Regions from separate parts of the Homo sapiens genome. Here region 1 is linked to region 2. Evidence: promoter capture Hi-C in human tissues and cell types (Jung and others, 2019). All regions are on one chromosome and are shown on one strand. The core of a region is centred on a gene start or on the middle of the fragment in contact, and the rest is flanking DNA. Distances in the headings are between cores, read along the strand shown.

What was found. The method cuts DNA at HindIII sites, captures the fragments that hold promoters and counts their contacts. A contact is called where the count stands out against the background at its distance.
Region 1: a contact is called between a fragment that was not itself captured here and the fragment with the promoter of PPRC1 in region 2, in 1 of the 25 tissues and cell types used here (stomach).

What each region holds. Positions count from the first base shown.
Region 1 is chr10:102,656,526-102,659,853 of GRCh38, reverse strand. TRIM8 (tripartite motif containing 8) reads right to left here. Exons shown (of 6, transcript NM_030912.3): 6 at 1,536-3,107. The coding sequence ends at 2,500. Among named protein-coding and RNA genes, the nearest start is that of TRIM8, 14 kb to the right of the region's middle. The HindIII fragment of the contact is 6,582 bases long and covers 1-3,328 here.
Region 2 is chr10:102,130,840-102,134,587 of GRCh38, reverse strand. It overlaps PPRC1 (PPARG related coactivator 1), which reads right to left and starts at 1,548. Exons shown (of 14, transcript NM_015062.5): 1 at 1,367-1,548. The coding sequence starts at 1,519. RefSeq lists silencers at 876-995, 1,026-1,075, 1,286-1,465 and an enhancer at 1,446-1,725. The HindIII fragment of the contact is 12,055 bases long and covers 1-3,748 here.

The sequences.
Region 1 (3,328 bases), core at 829-3,328, 520 kb before region 2:
AGTGGCACGATCTCGGCTCACTGCAACCTCTGCCTCCCAGGTTCAAGCGATTCTCCTGCCTCAGCCTCCTGAGTAGCTGGGACTACAGGCGCCCACCACCATGCCGGCTAATTTTTGTATTTTTAATAGAGATGAAATTTCACCACGTTGACCAGGCTGGTCTCGAACTCCCGACCTCAGGTGATCCGCCCATCTCAGCCTCCCAAAGTGCTGGGATTACAGGCATGAGCCACCGCGCCTGGCAGGAATGGGACTTTACAAGGCTGTCTGCCTTGTCCTGGGCTTCCTGGGGTGGGTGGCATTCAGGCCCGGATTCTGCCCAAACAAGAAGAAAGATAACTAGGCACCCAGCAGATTACAGAAGTGCATGGGCTGCGGACTTACAGCTCTGTGCAGAGCATCAGGCAACAACCGGAGCCTTTTTGAAGGTGAGGCCCCTCTCCAGAGAAGGGCCTTGGGGGTGTCCCAGCTTCCTCTCCCCGCAGTGGCCTCTGTGACAAGCAGCAGGGAGGACCCTGACCACCACAATGGCAGCACTTCTCTAAACCCAGGATATGGGAGAATAGAGTTAAAAATGCAAATTCCTGGGCTCTCAGAGATTCCCGATGAGTCTAAGCTAGGCCTCAGGAATCAGCACCCTTACCCTTTTTTTTTTTTTTTTTTTGAGACAGGGTCTTGCTCTGTTGTTTTGTTGCACAGGCTGGAGTGCAGTGACTTGATCTAGACCTACTGCAACCTCTGCCTCCCAGGCTCAAGCAGTTCTCCCACCTCAGTCCCAGAGTAGCTGGGACCACAGGTGTGGTGTGCCCCACCACGCCCAACTAATTCTTGTATTTTTTGTAGAAACAGGGTTCCGACATGTTGCCCAGGCTGGTCTCAAACCCCTGAGCTCAGGCAATTTGCCTTGGCCTCCCAAAATGTCAGGATTACAGGCGTGAGCCACAGCAAGGAATCGGCCCTTTTAACAAGCTCCCAAGACATGCTTGAGACTTTGAGAAGCTCTGCCGAAGTGGATGGGGGCAGGATGTCTTTTTCATCTTGCCACCCCACCTCCACCCCTCCCAAGGCCAAAGCCCCAAGTCCAAAGGAAGTATGGACCTGAGTGGTCCCCTCTCCCTATGGGGTCCAAGGCCCAGCTAGATTACATTCTGTCTCTATGCCTGCAGCCCTGCACAGTGCCTGGCACGTAGTGTGCACTCAAATATTTGTGGCCTGAAGGAGGTAAACTTTGCAAGACTCATAGAAAGGTGTTCCTCCTTCGTCCTCAGCTAAGAGCACATTGGCAGAACCTCAAAGAGATGCCGGGGCCCAGGTGGCATGGGGCTGGGCCTGGGAGGCCCTGGGCAAATATTTGTCAAATGAACCCAAGGCCAAGAGCAGACGGAGTCAGTGCCCGACGAACTGACATTCACAGGCCTGGAACCAGCTGGACCCAGGGGAGCAAAATCAAGGCAAGGAGGGCAGGGGCCCCTCCCCACACCGACGCCTGAAGATCCCAGGCCTGGGGGGGATAGGGGAACAGGCGAGGCAGGGAGTGGGACTGCGCCATCATGTTTATTAGAAGGTTGGATTTTGGTGTGTGCTCTAGACAGATACAGAATAAATACCTGCGCCTTGAGAACAGGAAGTCCACGATTCATACAAAGTGCTCACTACAGGAAGTTGCTGTGTCAAAATCCAGGCAAGGACCCAACTCCGGGCAGCCCCTCCTCCCTGCTGACCTCAACAAGGGCTGTGCTATTGTTTTTTATTTTATTATTTTATTTCTCTTTATTATTATTAATATTATTATTATTTGCTTTTGCTGTGGTCACTATCATTGGCAAAGTTCCTTTTCCCCTTTCCTGGACATAGGGGTCCTGTCTTTAAAAGATTCCACTCTGAGGCTGAAGGTGCCAAAAGCTGCTTGAGAAGTGGCCTTTGAACTCCGTCTGGGAAGATGGTGAGGAGAAGGAAGCAGGAGAAATCATTCTTGGTTTAAAAAAATTTAAAAAAACAAAAACAAAAGTCGCACAATCTAAAGGTCATTCCTTACTCGATCAGTGATCAAACTGCCCAAAAGGAAAACAAGAGGAGAAACAAGCCCGGGGCCCTGGGCGTTCCTCCCGGGTGGGGTAAGAAGGGTGGGACCCCCAAGCTTTCAGGGAAGCCGAGGTTCCTTCCAGCCACGGGGGTGTGAAGGGGAAGGAGTAGAGGAAAAAAGGAGAAACAGAGAGAGAGCTCAGCGCCTCGACACAGACACTTTCCCATCTCCAGGGCCACCTGCCGTCCTGGCCCAGGCCAGCTCCCACTGTCACCTCTGCGTCCAGGAGATTCATAATAAAAAAAAATCAAAAACAAAGCCAAAACCAAAACAAAATCCAAAAGGAAAAGACCTGGGGCAATGGAATGAGGAAGAGGGGAGGCGAGGAAGGTAGAAGGGCAGGTCTCTGGATGCATAACTCCCGAGCCCGGGGGCTGGGGAGGAAGATTCCCCAGCGCCCCGCCGCCTGCGTGGCGTTAGCTCGTCACGTAGTGTTTGGTGGACGGCTGCCCATACACCCTGTAGAAATCCTGGTGGCCGGGCTGCTGGGAGGCGTCAAGCCAGTCTCTGACCGCCAGGCTGGGAAGGGACTGGGGGACGGAGGGTGTGGGCGGGAGCGGGTGTGAGTACTCCTGCGAGGGCACTGTCCAGGGAAAGTGGCCGGAGCGGGGGTAGGGCTGGTGGCCGCCATGGTTGGCCACGGAAGAACAGTAACAGTTGTCCACAGAACAGACGAGAATCTTGCGGCCGCCATACTGGGGGAGCATGGGCTGCTGGGCGGCGGAGCCATTGGGATACTGCGATGGGGGGAACACGGGGCTTGAGTGCACTGGTTGGGCGCCGCCCGGCAGGGCCACCAAGTGCTGCGTGGAGCTGCAGGGCCCCAGGGGCTGCCCAGACTGGCCCTCACCGCTGGCTGTGCCCGCCGCCCCGTACTGGCCGCCCACAGGGCCCGACGACGTCTCTAGGAAACTGGCCTCTGGGAAGGCCGTTGAGTGCTTGCGCTTTTCCGCCCCAGAGCTGCTCACGCCGCAAGGGTACAGGGGGACACTCTGCAGGAAGGGCACCGGCGTGCTGAAGGGGCCTGTGGAGAGTTGGGGCAAAAGTCGCCAAAGCTCCCACCCCAAGCAACCCAGGCCTCCTCTCCCTGGGTTGGACCTGGGGACCATTGACACCTAGAGGCCCAAGAATGTTACATCTCAGGTGATGCTTGCTCCTCTACCATTAGGAGGTACAGAATAGTTATATCCCCACTTTAAGCTGAAGAAATGGAGGCTGGGGAGGTCATGTTGCTTACCCACTGTC
Region 2 (3,748 bases), core at 299-2,798:
GCCGGACCTGATATTACCAGGCAGCCTGCAGCCCAACTCCCACCTAGTAACACACAAAAAATGCTGTCAAGGACTCAGCTTAATTGTTTAAGAGAGGTAACAGTTCAAACTAATTCCTGCCCCTTCTACCCTGGGTGGAAACTTTTAAGAAGCCCTCCACTGTAGAGTAGAACAATAACACTTTTTGAAGGCCAAGAAAAAAATATCTAACAGAATCCTCCTCATCCAGTGTATGTTCAACTGTTGAACATGTTGAACAGTTCTCAAACCGCCTCCAACTTTTCCCATCCCCAGCAAAAAATCCGAAGAGCCTTAAGTACGGACCACCCCAGTTTCTGCGTGTCAGATTACAGGAGCATGCCTTCCCAAAAGAGATGCTGGAGGAAAAAGTGAGGAGAGGATTCCCTTTCCCTTTCTTAACCTTGTCCCAGGTGTATGTTGACACTCCCCATACCCCTTGAATCACTAATAAGGCAAGACTGCAAGGCAACCAAAACGCCAATGCCCGTGACTCACAACCCACCCCAAGCCGGTCAGACGGAAGCGCCACAAACTCACTCCTCCACAACCCTTCAGCCTCAGCCCTCTACCCTCCCCATCACACTCAGCCATCCGCAGGGAACAAACTCCCGCAACATCTGGAGAGTCCTTCACCATCCGCAGTGGAGAGACGTTGCGGACCCAAGCAGCAGGGAAAAAAAAAACCTCCAAGGCTCTGAACAAAGTTGACTCTAGCAGCCCTTACCTTCCTTCCCGGCCCGGGCCTCCAGCCCCGGCAGGAGATGGCGGGACCCGTGGAGACACACCCAGTTCGCGTCAGCCAGGCTCCAAGGCCGATACTAGATGCCCGACAGCCTGGGACGGGAGCCACGTGGACGTTCCTTCCCCGCCCCCACGTGGACCCGCTGCCTGCGCCCCCCTCCACCAGGAGCCCGACCCACGTGGATGCCCGGGCCGCCTAGAGGGGGAGGGGAGGCAGACAAGTTCTCCCGGGAAAATTGCTCCCCCAACCCCACGTGGCTCCGAAAAGGGAACTGCGGCGCCGGGCTCGGGGAGCCTCACTGGGCATCCTTACATGGAGGTCTCAGCCTTCGACCCCAAGTCCGAACCCCTGACCCCCAGCCGCGGGTTATGTTTCCGACACCCCGCTCTCCCCCTCCGGCGTCCCCCAGGAATGGCCGTAGAGACGCTGCCTCTGCCCGCCTACCCCCAGCAAACGGCCTAGGGCCCACTTGCTCCGGCCCGGCTCCCGCGGCCACCCGGCATCGACTCTCAGGCGCTTCCTCTCTTTCCTGTGGCGTCCACGTGTCACCGCCCGGCACACACCGCTTTGCTGCCTGTCGCGGGCCGCCAGCCAACCTCTCACCTGCTCGCCGCCGCTCACAGCGCCCAAAGTCCCATACGGCGCTTGGCTTCGACTTCCCCAACCACTGCCGCGGGCTCCCCCGCCAGGGTCCGGACCGGGGCCCCCACTCGGGGGCGGCGCGACTCCGTCTCTCCGTCCCCGGCGCGCCGCCATCTTGGCCCCTGAACACCCAGCGCTGCTCTGATCGCTGGCGCCGCCTCGCCCAGCCGATTGTGGGAAAGGAACTACAACTCCCGAATGACACTGCAAGACTACGAATCCCAGAGAGCCGTGCGGCGAGACCCACTTGCACCCTGGAAGAAGGCCCTGGCCTCGCGCGAAGGTTCCTGGGAGTAGTAGTCCCTTTAAGTGGGGACCGTTTGGCACTAGCTGCAGGCATCCTGTAGGGCTTAGTTTTGCGTTACACTGGGATACCGATTTAGGGAGCGCTCAGCAGTTAGGGGGAAAGTTAACATTTGCGTATTTTATTGTCGTTAACTTGTCCAACTGTTGGAACGTCCTCTTTGACGTTCTACCTGCTGTACGTTCCTTTCACCTTAGTCCAAGTGGGGCCAAGTGGGCCTGTATATGTTTTGAAACACCACCCCCTAGTGGGCACTTGCGCTCCAAGCGCTAATCCTCACCTAATCCCATATTGCGGCAGTACTGCAAACTTAATCGGAAAATGTCGCGTTCTCCGCCCTCTCTGCTACTACTCAGAAACTTACGTTGCCTTCTCTATCAAATTTGTTTCTTGCTGTTTCAGGTCTCCTTGCTGTTCCCTAAAGACAACAGGTGTTCTCCTGCCTATATGTCGACCTGGAATACTTGAACCTCAAAACATTTCATGCCTTATTTAATCTAGGAAAGGCTTTGGTTGTCCTAGCCAAGAGGGATCCCGCTCTGCGTTTCTACGGTCCATCACTGTCTCTACTCTTCATTCATTTGCCACTTAAAAGCTACTTCATATTTGCTATTTTTAAATAACTTTTTACAAAGCACAAAAATTATTTCAAAAAGTACAAGACTGTTTAGAGGAAAAAAAGTAGTAGGCCTGCAAATTATAGTTCTACTGCCCAGATTTAAACCCCTTGTTACTTTTAGTGTGTATTCATTGACGCTTTTTTCTATGAATGGAAAAATATATAGGGGCACAAATTGGTGATTTGCTTTTTTTATGTAACAATATGTTAATCCACTCACTAGCTAAATATTTACTGAGCCTTTAGCACCAGTTCTATTTTATGAATGTATTGTTATTTAAATTATATTGAAGTTGTTTCTGGCCGTGGCTCGGTGACTCACACTTGTAGTCCCAGCACTTTGGGAGGCTGAAGTGGGTGAATCACTTGAACTAAGGAGTTTGAGACCAGCCTGGACAACATGGCAAAACCCCACCTCTACCAAAAATTTAAAAATTAGCTGGACATGGTGGCACACATCTGTGGTCCCAGCTACTCGGGAGGCCGAGGCAGGAGGATTGCTTGAACCCAGGAGGTGGAGGTTGTAGTGAGCCAAGATCATGCCACAGCACTCCAACTTGGGTGACAGAGTGAGACTTCTTCTCAAAAATAAATAATATTTAAGTTGTTTACAGTTTCTCACTATTACATATTATTATGATGAACACCCTTGCATATGTCATGTACATGTACCTTTGCACTTTTGTGCAATCTTTCTGTGGAATAGTTTCCATGAAATTCAAGTGCCGAGTTAAACAATGCATGTATTTGAAATACAGTAGAAAATTGCCCTTTAGAAATATTGCATCACTATACATCCCCACACATGTTCATGAAAAGAGAGGACCTTTTCTGGACCTTTTCTTAGATGTTCTTTCTTTTTTTTTTTTTTGTTAGACAATAGGGTTTTACTCTGTCACCCAGGGCTGCAGTGTGGAGTGCGGTGAGCAAGAGTGCCGTGGCAGATCATAGCATAGCTCACTGTGATCTCTCAAGCTCAAAGGATCCATCTGCCTCAGCCTCCAGAGTAGCTGGGTACTACAGGTACACACTGCCATGCCCAGCTAATTTTTTTTTTTTTTTTTTTGAGATGGAGTGTCACTCTGTCACCAGGCTGGAGTGCAGTGGCGCGATCTTGGCTCACTGCAACCTCCACCTCCCAGGTTCAAGTGATTCTCCTGCCTCAGCCTCCCGAGTAGGTGGGACTACAGGTGCCCACCACCACACCCAGCTAATTTGTTTTTGTATTTTTAGTAGAGACAGGGTTTCACCATGTTGGCCAGGACGGTCTCGATCTCTTGACCTCGTGATTTGCCTGCCTCGGCCTCCCAAAGTGCTGGGATTACAGGGGTGAGCCACCACGCCTGGCCATGCCCAGCTAATTTTTTGGGGGTTCTTGGGGGGTCTCACATCTTGCCCAGGCTGTTCTCCAACTCTTAGC